Linked DNA regions of Homo sapiens: all the other regions are linked to region 4. Evidence: promoter capture Hi-C in 16 types of primary human blood cells and fetal thymus (Javierre and others, 2016). All regions are on one chromosome and are shown on one strand. The core of a region is centred on a gene start or on the middle of the fragment in contact, and the rest is flanking DNA. Distances in the headings are between cores, read along the strand shown.

The links. The method cuts DNA at HindIII sites, captures the fragments that hold promoters and counts their contacts. A CHiCAGO score of 5 or more calls a contact.
Region 1: a contact is called between a fragment that was not itself captured here and the fragment with the promoter of ATP8A1 in region 4, in 1 of 17 cell types (non-activated CD4 T cells). The highest score is 5.4, in non-activated CD4 T cells.
Region 2: the fragment with the promoter of TXK here is called in contact with the fragment with the promoter of ATP8A1 in region 4 in 3 of 17 cell types (non-activated CD4 T cells, naive CD8 T cells and total CD4 T cells); the score reaches 15.2 in non-activated CD4 T cells.
Region 3: a fragment that was not itself captured here is called in contact with the fragment with the promoter of ATP8A1 in region 4 in 1 of 17 cell types (fetal thymus); the score reaches 9.8 in fetal thymus.

The regions. Positions count from the first base shown.
Region 1 is chr4:48,340,375-48,343,074 of GRCh38, forward strand. It overlaps SLAIN2 (SLAIN motif family member 2), which reads left to right and starts at 1,155. Exons shown (of 8, transcript NM_020846.2): 1 at 1,155-1,754. The coding sequence starts at 1,366. RefSeq lists enhancers at 576-695, 1,102-2,015 and silencers at 846-1,185, 1,326-1,635. The HindIII fragment of the contact is 7,807 bases long and covers 1-2,700 here.
Region 2 is chr4:48,132,815-48,135,514 of GRCh38, forward strand. TXK (TXK tyrosine kinase) reads right to left here and starts at 1,436. Exons shown (of 15, transcript NM_003328.3): 1 at 1,341-1,436. The coding sequence starts at 1,356. RefSeq lists a silencer at 878-1,172. The HindIII fragment of the contact is 7,086 bases long and covers 1-2,700 here.
Region 3 is chr4:36,241,299-36,243,998 of GRCh38, forward strand. All of the region lies in intron 1 of ARAP2 (ArfGAP with RhoGAP domain, ankyrin repeat and PH domain 2), which reads right to left. Among named protein-coding and RNA genes, the nearest start is that of ARAP2, 1.9 kb to the right of the region's middle. The HindIII fragment of the contact is 1,441 bases long and covers 638-2,078 here.
Region 4 is chr4:42,655,762-42,658,461 of GRCh38, forward strand. ATP8A1 (ATPase phospholipid transporting 8A1) reads right to left here and starts at 1,344. Exons shown (of 37, transcript NM_006095.2): 1 at 1,064-1,344. The coding sequence starts at 1,112. ATP8A1-DT (ATP8A1 divergent transcript) reads left to right here and starts at 1,762. Exons shown (of 1, transcript NR_186688.1): 1 at 1,762-2,586. RefSeq lists enhancers at 531-580, 1,571-1,780 and a silencer at 1,071-1,540. The HindIII fragment of the contact is 6,451 bases long and covers 339-2,700 here.

The DNA.
Region 1 (2,700 bases), core at 138-2,637, 5.7 Mb after region 4:
CTAAAGGGTAGAAGCAAGTCAGTCATGGCATGAGTCCACACTCAGGTGTAACAGGACTGGATCATTGTTATTAAACTAAGGGTGGAGGCGGCAACTGAAGAAAAGCTGCAAACACAAGCCAAAGCCGTTCACAATTGACCTCTGAAGACCAACGACTGTGATAATGTGATCAAAACAAAGCATTTAAGTTTTGTTTAGGTTTCCTGCCGCATTCTAAAGGCAGACTTCACATTCTTACAATTTTCTTCATTCTTCAGTATCTGTCAGCGTGTTTAACTACTTTTAACATACAACTTTTAAAAAAGTCAAGACACACTACGAGGAACTTTTTCCGAAGGAAGTGATCCAAAGAACAGAGTGTGAGTCAATAAACGGAGAAAGGGAGTAGAGAAGCGGTTTACTATCCCCCGCTTCCGCCCCAGTGTGCTGTAAACTTTAAGTCGGGAAAACTATGTTTTAACCGATGAGATAATGCCTTTAAAAGTGCTTAGCACACTGTCTGGCCAGTAGGAAGCACTCAAGAAATTATGATTATTTTGACCTTAGACCTCTCTTAACTGTCTGAAACTGGGGTTTCTTATTTTCAGGGGAAGAAACAGGACACAGGCAGTCTAGAGGCTCCTGCCAGCCGAGACAATCTCCAATTAAAAGTCGGCATCGATTAAATATTTGCTGAACAAAGTAAACTGTCTCTCCACCGCCGGGCTGAGCGCCCACTCGAGATCCGGCCCGGAACAAGGGCGAGACTGGCCCGCGGGTCCCACACTCCCTGTAAGGGGTGGAGAACACGCCCACACGCCCAGACCAACAGGCGAGGCTGTTCGAGGACCTTGTTAGCCACCTCAGCCCCGCCCGCCGCGAGCCTTCTGCTGGCCTCCCGTTCTGCAGGGACCCTCCCTAGCCAGCCCGGCCGCGTCCCACATCCGCCGACACGCCCCTTCCGGCCTAATCCCCGCCCCTCAAGCACCGGCCCCGCCCCATAGGCCCCGTCCGTGGCCCCGCCCCGCCGCGAGCTGGCGCCGGGTCCTCTCAGCGCCCGCCGGCGGCCGCGTCCACCCCCGACGCTCTGAGGTCACCGACTGGGCCGGCCCGCGGGGGGCGGAGGGACGGAGGGAAGATGGCGGCAGGGGCCGGATATTGGCGCCGCCTCCCCCAATCCCGGAGCCGGCGCAGATGAGGCAGTTCGGCTGGGGCCAGCGGCGCTTTGGAACCCGAGGTGGGGGGACCCTGGCGGTGGGGCCTGGTCCTGCTATATGCCGGCGCCTCGGCTAGAGTGAGCGGCGGCGACGCCTCTTTCCTCCGTCTCTTTCCCTGTCGCTGCGAGAGCGAGCGGGCGGCGGAGGCGGCGGCGGCGGCGGGGCCGGGATGGAGGACGTTAACTCCAACGTGAACGCGGACCAGGAGGTGCGGAAGCTGCAGGAGCTGGTGAAGAAGCTGGAGAAGCAGAACGAACAGCTGAGGAGCCGCTCGGGGGCCGTGCAGGGCGCCGGCTCCCTTGGGCCCGGCAGCCCGGTTCGGGCCGGCGCGTCCATTCCCTCCTCCGGCGCGGCGTCTCCTCGGGGCTTCCCCTTGGGCCTCAGCGCCAAGTCGGGCGGCGGGCCCGGGTCGGGCCCGAGGCGGACGAGTAGCGAAGAGCTGCGGGACGCCACCTCCTTGCTAGCGGCGGGCGAGGGCGGCTTGCTGGACGAGGTGGAGCCGCTGCGGCCCGACGAGCTGGAGCGCCTGTCAGGCTGGGAGGAGGAGGAGGAGAGCTGGTGAGCGCGAGGCGCCGGGCAGGAGCTGGGCGGGGACGGGCCCGGGGGCGGAGAGCGTCCTCTGAGGGTCCCTCTGGTCGGGCGCCTCGCTTTGTGTAGCCGGGTCCGCTCTCCTGTGGCGACTTGTGGTTTTCTTGCTTTGGCAGAGGGAACGTCAGCTGGAGTTGGGGGTTCGAGGCGTGCGCAAGTAACAGGGTTGTAGCTCGTTGTCCTTTGGATTGTGGACCTTCTGAGTGCTGGACCCTATTGGGGTCTGTGGGTTGGGGCAGCTTGAGAAGGGCTGTTCGCCTGGGGAGGAGTCGGAGGTGGGAAACTGCTTTGTAGGCAGGGATCCTGCTTTGTGTAAGATACTGGCTTTCGGATGGTGGCCCTGGGCATTCTGGATGTAGGAGAGGGGTCTGCTTGATGAGGTATCACCAGGTGTGGGGGTCAGGGGCAGACCAGAGTCGTCTACGTCTATGCAGCGGTTGGTGTTTGGGACCCATTTCTGGCGGGGATGGGGAGACCGTATGAATCAGCACTCCCCTTTGGGTAGTGGGGTAAACCTTGCTTTGTGTGAAGAGAGGGCAGAGGATGGTGCTGCTTTTTTTTTTTTTTTTTTTTTTTTGTTACTCTGTGTGAAGAGTCAAGGGTGGAACGAGCCCTGGCTCTTATTTTCTAAAACAAGAATTGAGTCTGGCGTTTTGCAGAGCTCTGAATTGACAGTTATCACATCCATCTTTCATTTCCACGTCCTTCTAGGGGCAGAGAAAAAGAGTCCTATTTAAAAATTTAAACCAAAGCTATATTGTCATAAGCCACTTCTTGATGAAATTGTGGCCCCCCCACCTTAATATCACTTTCATAAATAGGACATGGGAGGCTTTTCCTCTCGTTTTATTATAAAGATGTGTGTGGGCAATTATTTGTCTTAATTCATTTTTCTTAAAGTTTTAACTTTTAGCTA
Region 2 (2,700 bases), core at 186-2,685, 5.5 Mb after region 4:
ATGCGCCTGTAGTCCCAGCTACTCGGGAGGCTGAGGCAGGAGAACCACTTGAACCCAGGAGGTGGAGGTTGCAGTGAGCTGAGATCGTGCCACTGCACTCCAGCCTGGGTGACAGAGCAAGACTCTGTCTAAAAAAAAAAAAAAAGTCTCATACTTAAATCCTGCGTCTGACAACCATATGAGTTTCTGGCAAGATTTAAACTTTCAAAGGCACAATTTTCTTATTGGCTAGATAAGAATAACAATTTTCACCTTGCCAGTTTGTAGTGAAGATTTCAGATAATGAATATAAAGGAACTGGTATAGACCATGGCCCATAGTAGGTGCTCAATAAATACCTTTATAAAGAAACAAACACATTGCAATTCTGATATGACGGCTGCCTTCTTATTTAGAAGACTATTCTGCTTGGTTTTTTTTTTTATTCTAATTTCTTTGGATTTATAAGCATCCCCCACAGCTCTTTCAAACCAAGGATCTTCACAGATAACAGTGTCTAGGGAATCTTTCTCTGTTCTCCTAAAACAAGCACTTATTTTTAATGATGGTCTTATATTCTATAAAAATATTAAAATAACATCTTCATATGTAGTATTATATATGAGGGAAAGAGACATTTGAGCCAGTGTTCACACTTGACCATGTTCACACTTTTAACCAGGTAGAGACTCGTGACTTTGACTCTTATTTTGGCCTTTACTCAGGCTCTGACTGCAGATAAGAATCAGTTTTGCCTAAATTTCAATTGCTTGGGAAAGGTCCTCGATAACGGAAGTCTACATAGAATTGTGAATAAATACCCCTGTGAAAATAAAGGTTAAGTCTATATGTTTACTTGATAAAGCAGATAATTTCAGAGTATAAACACAGTTGTGTTTTGACTTCTCTTCCTTTTGCCTTAAATATAGATATTTATTTGTGTGTGTGTGTATGTGTGTGTATTTATATATATATAAAGTTGCCCACTGTGATCCACCACTGCTGGAGCAAATCCAGAACTAGAACTTGGTCTCCTGGCCTTCAGCCCAGAGCTCATTACAGTCTCATTCTAAAAACAAGTACTTCATACTGATTGCATTTCTACACACACATATGCAGATTTCTGGACACTCTTTCTGTTTTTCTTTCATTTATGTTCTCAATGCTGAACCTTTATTAGAATTACATCATCACTGTGGTTCTTTAAATAAGAAACAAAACTCTGTCACAACATCTGAGGAAATTATCTTTTAATGTCCCCAAGCTCTATGCCTTGGAAAAAAAAAACTTCCTCTGCTGTTCAAGAATAACAGGCCCCAGAACAAGCCCCAAAAATAAATGACAAAGCCCATCTTACTCACAGGAGGAAAGGATCATGGTAGCCCCTTCTGCGGGGAGCACACAACAGTCTTCAGTTCTTCTGCGGTGCTCTACTCACAAAAACACATCTTTCAACTGAAATCATAGTTCGCTCAAGATGTTTCTCACGGGCAGAGTTAACCCCACCTATTTTCCTGTTCTGAAAACCTCAGAAGAGTATAAATGACAACCAATGGCATATATAAGAAAGCTCAGTAATCTCCATCCCAATCTCTGAGGGTATCTGCTATTAGTCTCTCATCCCCAAAGGTGTGGGTGACTCGCAAACATCATTTTCAAGAAATCACAAAATTTTGGTAAAAGGCACCTTTAAAATTATCAAATCAAACTGCCCTCTCTGGACTGGGAAGGAAATGAAGGCACAGACAGAATAAGGGACTTGCCCAAGGCCACACCGTGAGTGGCAGAAACAATTAGATTCTAGGCTCTGGAATATTGAGTTTAGAATGTTCCATCCTCCCACTCAGCAGACACTTTATTTGGGGGAAGTCAATCTAGTAATAACCCTAAAATGTGATTGGGGGATGGCTGAGAAATATAAAAACACCAACAATACAAAACACACTTGGGAGTTTCACTTCATCCCACTGGAAAGCATAACCATGTGTCAACTAATTAACAGAGCAACTTTAATGAAGACACAGCATATTCTAATCGCCCTTCCAATTTCCTGGTTTAGATTAAGGTCTCCTTAGCATTCTGGGTGATGACTGTTATTTTTACTTCACCTTTTGCCTTTGTTATGCTTTCGTATAAAACTTTTTTTCTAAGTCTTAGTGAAAAATATTTAAAGATTTTTGAAGGAAATGTTGACAAATGTTGCCAGGTGCTATCTATCTTGTTTTCCCATAAAAAGCATACACTGACCATTAGGACAGGGACTCTATCTTCTCCTCACTCTCTTTCATACCACCTAGTACTTCCCGTAGCTCCTCAAGGTGAAAAGGGAAGTATGGGATGGGAGGAGGGAAGGTCAGGAAGGAAGGAGAAAAGGCTGACAGTGATAGTAAGGTAGAGTGTGCCAGGACCGACTCCTTCAATGAGCTACAAGTCAGTTAAAAGTTGTGCATGGTTAGCAACCAAAATGCCCATCAATGATAGGCTGGATAAAGAAAATGTGGTACATATACACCGTGGAATATTATGCAGCTATACAGAATGAAATCATGTCCTTTGCAGGGACATGGATGGAACTGGAAGCCGTTATCCTTAGCAAAGTAATGCAGGAACAGAAAACCAAACACCACATGTTCTCACTTATAAGTGGGAACTGAACCATGAAACACATGGACACAGGGAGGGGAACAACACATACTGGGGCCTGTTGGGGAGGGCAGATGA
Region 3 (2,700 bases), core at 108-2,607, 6.4 Mb before region 4:
AGTTTGAGGGTTTATTCCTATTGGTTTAGCAATTGTCAAAGTTTCTTTTTCTTATAAAAAGAGGGCATTTCAGAAAACGTCTCCTACCTTACTGGACCATTTTTTAACATGTATTCATTCAATATATATTAAGCAACACTACTCGCTCCAAGATAAGAGAGGGAGATATTTGGTGTTCAAGATAACAGCCTCTACTGTCTCATTTGACAACAGTGCTAAGGGCTACAAAGAAAGTGAAGATACAGTCTTCCCTCCAAGAGTTTACAATCTAAAAGGGTAGATGAGACATGACTATAAGAAAAGGTAAATGGCACGTATATGAACAATCAGTTCATTATTACTCAGTAAGTGCCAATAAACAATACCAAAGACACCACAAAAAAACAACTTTTTGCAAAGAATTTGATATATTCCAAAAAAAACACTTAAATTGTAATGGTGAGAAAAATCCAATTTTATGACCCTAATTTCCACATGGTTTTATATTTTAGTATTGTTTTAAATACATGGAGAAGTGGCCCCATCATCCTTCATGAGTTCTCAGGAACTCTAAAAAATCTCAAATCTGCCACCTAAACCACTGCTTCAACCCAAATCAGGCCTCCTTTGTTTTCTCTGCAGCATGGGTAAATAAGTAAGCTTGTGCTGAACAGAAACTGAAACAAAATTTCACAGGACAACTTTCTAACTAGAAAAGATCACGTGAGGAGAATACCATTAAGTACTGCTTCATTTAAAGAAGAAACAAGTGAGCAAAATGGTTTAACTACCATTATATATTTAATCTGGCCAATACTTACAAGTAATAACTAAAATGATAAATTACAAGGTCCAGAACTTTGCAGAAAAGATTAAGACAGCGTCTCATAGCCTCTAATCTCACATCCACCATATGTGGTCAAAGCTAAGACATATTTCCCAGATTATTAAGAAGTTCTCTACCTAATTAATATTTCACCAAGAATTCCCAAAACTCTTACAATGTAGCATGTGCAAAGATTGTATCCAAGAAATGTATCAATAAATAAATGAGGACAGGTGGAAATGTATGCTAAAAGAAAACTATTAAAGCAATGACTATTATTTATACTTAGCATTTTTATAGTCACTTTCACCAAACTTTCTCACAGTTGCAGGGAGGTGGGTTAGAAAGTAACAAAACGAAACAACAACAACAACAAAAAACTTCTCATATATCATGAAGTCTATAACCCAGAATTCTACGTAGACTTTAAAACTTCATAGTTTCAATGCGTTAAAGTTCTTAAGAAAACTGTAATTCATTATAATCTGAGTTCTATACTTCTCCACAGTATCCAAGAATAGTTGGATCTGATATTATTGCATATCCATGAGCCTTACACTGCAAGGAGCTTGCAGTGATATTAGAAAAACAAGAATTTGTTTTTAAACGTACCATCAGCTTCTCCTTTTACAGACAAGCCACATAAAATCTGACAGGTTTACAGACGAAGGAAAAAATACAAACACAAGCACACACCCATATAAATACGTTTTAACAAGCTCTCTCACTTACCCTCTAGGTACATTTTAATTCAAATAAATCTTTGAGTACTGACAAATCTATATAAAACCCTCTTCGTGTTAGGAACCACCTTAAATGTGTATGTGTTAAATATGTTTAGAAAGAAGCCAGGAAGATATTTGCACTTAACCCTAGCCTAGTTCCATGACCCACTTTTTTTTCTTCTTTAAACGTTGTTGGACAAAAAATGTCATGAGTATTTTCTCTCAATATTTCTCCTGTAAGTGTATGGAAGTCATAAATAAGAGTTAAAAAAAAAAGAGTTTAAAGGTATTTCTCTTTTTTTCCTTAAAAAAAGTTAGCTTGCTTTTTATCTTCCAATTACTTACGGGCAAAGTTCCATGGGCCTGTGGGGGTGTAGAGTGCTTAAGTGCAGATAAATCAATACTGAGCTTGTAAGTACAATACTATTATGAGTAATAACAATGACATCCTATTAAATGTACTTTTAAAAATAGCTTATTTTCAATACACTTCTTGATTTTTTTTAAACCGAAGGCTGTATTCTACTGAACAGCCTACTTCAAGGACAAGCTTGCAAAAAAAAAAAAAAAAAAAAAAAGAATTTGCTATCAGGATACCTACTTACAACACCCTAAGATGTCATTATTCCACACAAATTAGCTTATTTTCTTGTGTTTTCCTCTAATTATCAAAGGCTATATAATCCACGAACCCTTTCCCCAAATCAAAATAACTCCAGATCACCTCAAGGTAGGAGGTGTTTAAGAAAACAAGCCAGAATTAGATAAAGTAAAACTTACTTTATTAAATAGGATGGACACCACTTCTCCCAAGAGAACTGTCTCCAAAAGTAAACAAGAAAGATCAATCTGGTAAACTCACATCATACAGGTTCCCGTGTAAGGTATCGGGTTCAGGCAGGTGGAAGCCAAATGATCGTAATTAAAGTTAATTAACAGGCCAGTCGTCTTAACGTGGTTAACAAGCAGGGTGCGGGGCAGCACAGACACCCGGGCAAATTCATGATCTCTACCGAGTAAATAACTTGGTGCCTGAAACTCACTACAGCTTCTTCTTATTTAAAGGTAGGGGAGAGGAATGGAGGGAGTGTCCAGCTGTCTATCCGGATCCTCACCCTCCCGGGTCAAATCCCAGAAGTGGAGTTCTTGGATCACTTACCGGCTTCTGGT
Region 4 (2,700 bases), core at 94-2,593:
GGAGAAAAAATGGCCTGTCTCCATCCCTGAAATCCAATTCTCCTAACTTATATATTTTTCTAAAACCACTTCACCACCTGTCTCACATTAAAAGATGGAGGTGGGGAGGAAGAGTGGGAATCAGCGATGATGGCAAGATAGATTTCTGAAAAACATGTTATTCCACCCTCTGCAGGATTCAAGTACAGGTTTATGGGAGAGGACAAACAAACCTTGGGATATTTACAGTCTTGGCTTTGACGCGAGCAAAATCAAATAATATTTACAGAGTGCCTGCCACATGGCAGGCAGGATGTTGAGGGCTCCTCGGAGACGATGAAGAGTCTGGGCCCTCGGAAAGCTTACTTGCTTCTACCCCGGAGCATCTGTTGCTCAGTGTTGACAACCATGGCCATTCAAGAGCTGGCCCCAGGTGGAGCAAAGAAAACAGCTTCCACCTGGCTGAAAAGTCAGCTCAGCTGGCCGAAGTGAGGGTTTCGGGCAAAAGGGAAACACAAAAACGAAACCTCAGACGCGAGCCGGTGGGACTCCGCTGCAGGAGGCAGAATTGCAGAAGCTGTAATGCAGGGAACCCACTCGGCACCCGACCCCGATGAAGGCTCCCCGCGCTTCGAGAGCCAAGGGACTACGGATCAAAGGATCCTGCAGCCGGGGAAAAGCAAACTCGCTTCGCTGGGAGCTCAGATAGGGGGTTGCAAAACGGTGGGCGCCGGAGGCAGGGGCGGCGGGCTGGGGATCTGCTGAGTGGAAATCGAACTGGTGGGGAGGGAGGTGGGCAGGGCGAGTGAGCTCAGTGACTGGGACCTAATGGTCACACTGCGGTGCAAAGCACGCCTCGGGGCTCCCGCGGAGAACACCCATTCGAGGGTACTGGAGCCTGGAAAGGGTCTGCGAGTACACTGGGGGCAGCGCGGGGGGAAGGGTCCCCTAGGGGCCGGGCGCGACAGTCGGACTGCCGCCGGGGAAGAGGTAGGATGCGGTCTCTTCCAGGATAAACACACACGCTCACACACACACTCGCTTCCCGACCCCGGGCTAGCCCCGAGCCTCGGCGGCCCCTTACCTTCGGCGCGCGAGCGGATCTCCGACACGGTCCTCCGCATGGTGGGCATCGCGGCGGCGGCTGCAGGTGGGTCCTCAGCCCGGACTCTGCACCTGTCACGGCGTGGTACACGCGGGAGACCCGGCTGCGCCGCGCAGAGCGCTCAGCTGCAGCCTGGGCCGCGCCGCCGCCCACCTAGGGCAGAGCTGCCGCCGGGCGCGGCCCCCGCACGCCGACAGGAGGAGGAGAAAGGCAGCGGTGGCGGCGAAGGTGGCGGCGCCCGCAGAGCTGGGCGAGCTCTTGCTGCAGCCGCGGAGGGGCGGCTCGGCGAGGGGCGGAGCTCGGGCGCCGGCGCCGGGGGAGGGGCCTGCGGGGCTCGCGCTCCCCCTCCCGCGGCCGCTCAGCAAGGAAGGCGGGTGAGGGGCGGGGAGAGCCAGGGGGAGCCTCCTTCGCCCCGCCCCGCCCCGCTTCGGACCGTATCACGACTCAAAGGGGGGATCAACTCTTAGCCTCCTTAGTCCTCCAGCGTTTTCGCTCCGCCCTGTGGAGTTGGTTGACCCGGTTCCTCCTCCAGGCCACTCGGACTCTCTCACATCTTGCTCAGAAAGGAAAGACTGCTCTGGCTGCTGCATTCTCACGAATCCCCTCCCGCTACCCCTGGCTTTTGATCGCAGTGGAGCCGCCCGTCGTCCGGAAAGAGCTGTTGGGTCTGAGCCGGCAGGCGAAGGCGAAAGGGTCTGGGACTACAAGGTTTAGCTCCCAGCCAGAGCAGGAAAGGAACGACTGACTGTTCGCCATCTGGGTGTAATTCTAACCTCTCTGCACGCCCAGCCCGACTCGTGGCCTGAGCCGCACTTGTCCTCCTGCCTCGCCCACTAGCAACAGGCTGCCAGGTCGGGAGGCCCCTGGTGCCCATGGTGCTCTTGTCCATGGGGCTTGGGTGCATCTGGGCCCCGCCTGCAAGTGGGCCCGGTGCATCTCCCTAGTTCAGGCTCTGCAGCCTGACAAGGCACTGAAATAGCAATTAAGCCAACTAAGTATTGGCCCAGGTGGTTCACAAAAGACTTTTTTTTTTTCTTTTAGTTAAATCTGCATAAAGTTGGATGCAGTCGTTTTATCTGCAAAGGGGAGAGGAGTCTTTGTATAAAATCCATAAATATGTTAAATTTTAATTTGCCGATGTCCTTCAGACTATCATAGCCTCATTACCTTTTATTTTGTATACCGAGATCTATGCTAAAAAGTTGTCAAAACAAATACTTCACCTTCAAGTTAAGATGTAAGGTTTTGTGCTGTTTCTGGCGAGCTGCTGAACTGGCAGGAAAGGAATAAACCAGAAACAATAAATCAGAAGCAATTTGCTTCTTCCCTCATTTCATGCTCTTCCTCCAGCAACCAGCGAAAGAGATCCTCACATAGAGGCCTTTTATTTGAGATCTTTTCACATCCTGAAGGGAGAGAGCTGGAGAGGTTTGACCTGAGAGAGAAGTGATTATTTCCAAGCCTCAGGAAAAAATGAAATAAAATCTGCTAATAGCGTCCTATCTCCATTTGTGGTATTTCTTCTGCTTCCTGCAGGTAGCACTTGCTAATCAGAGCCCTGCCCTACATTAATACTCAGGCAGTCAATGCATATTTATGAAGAGCCCACTCTAGTT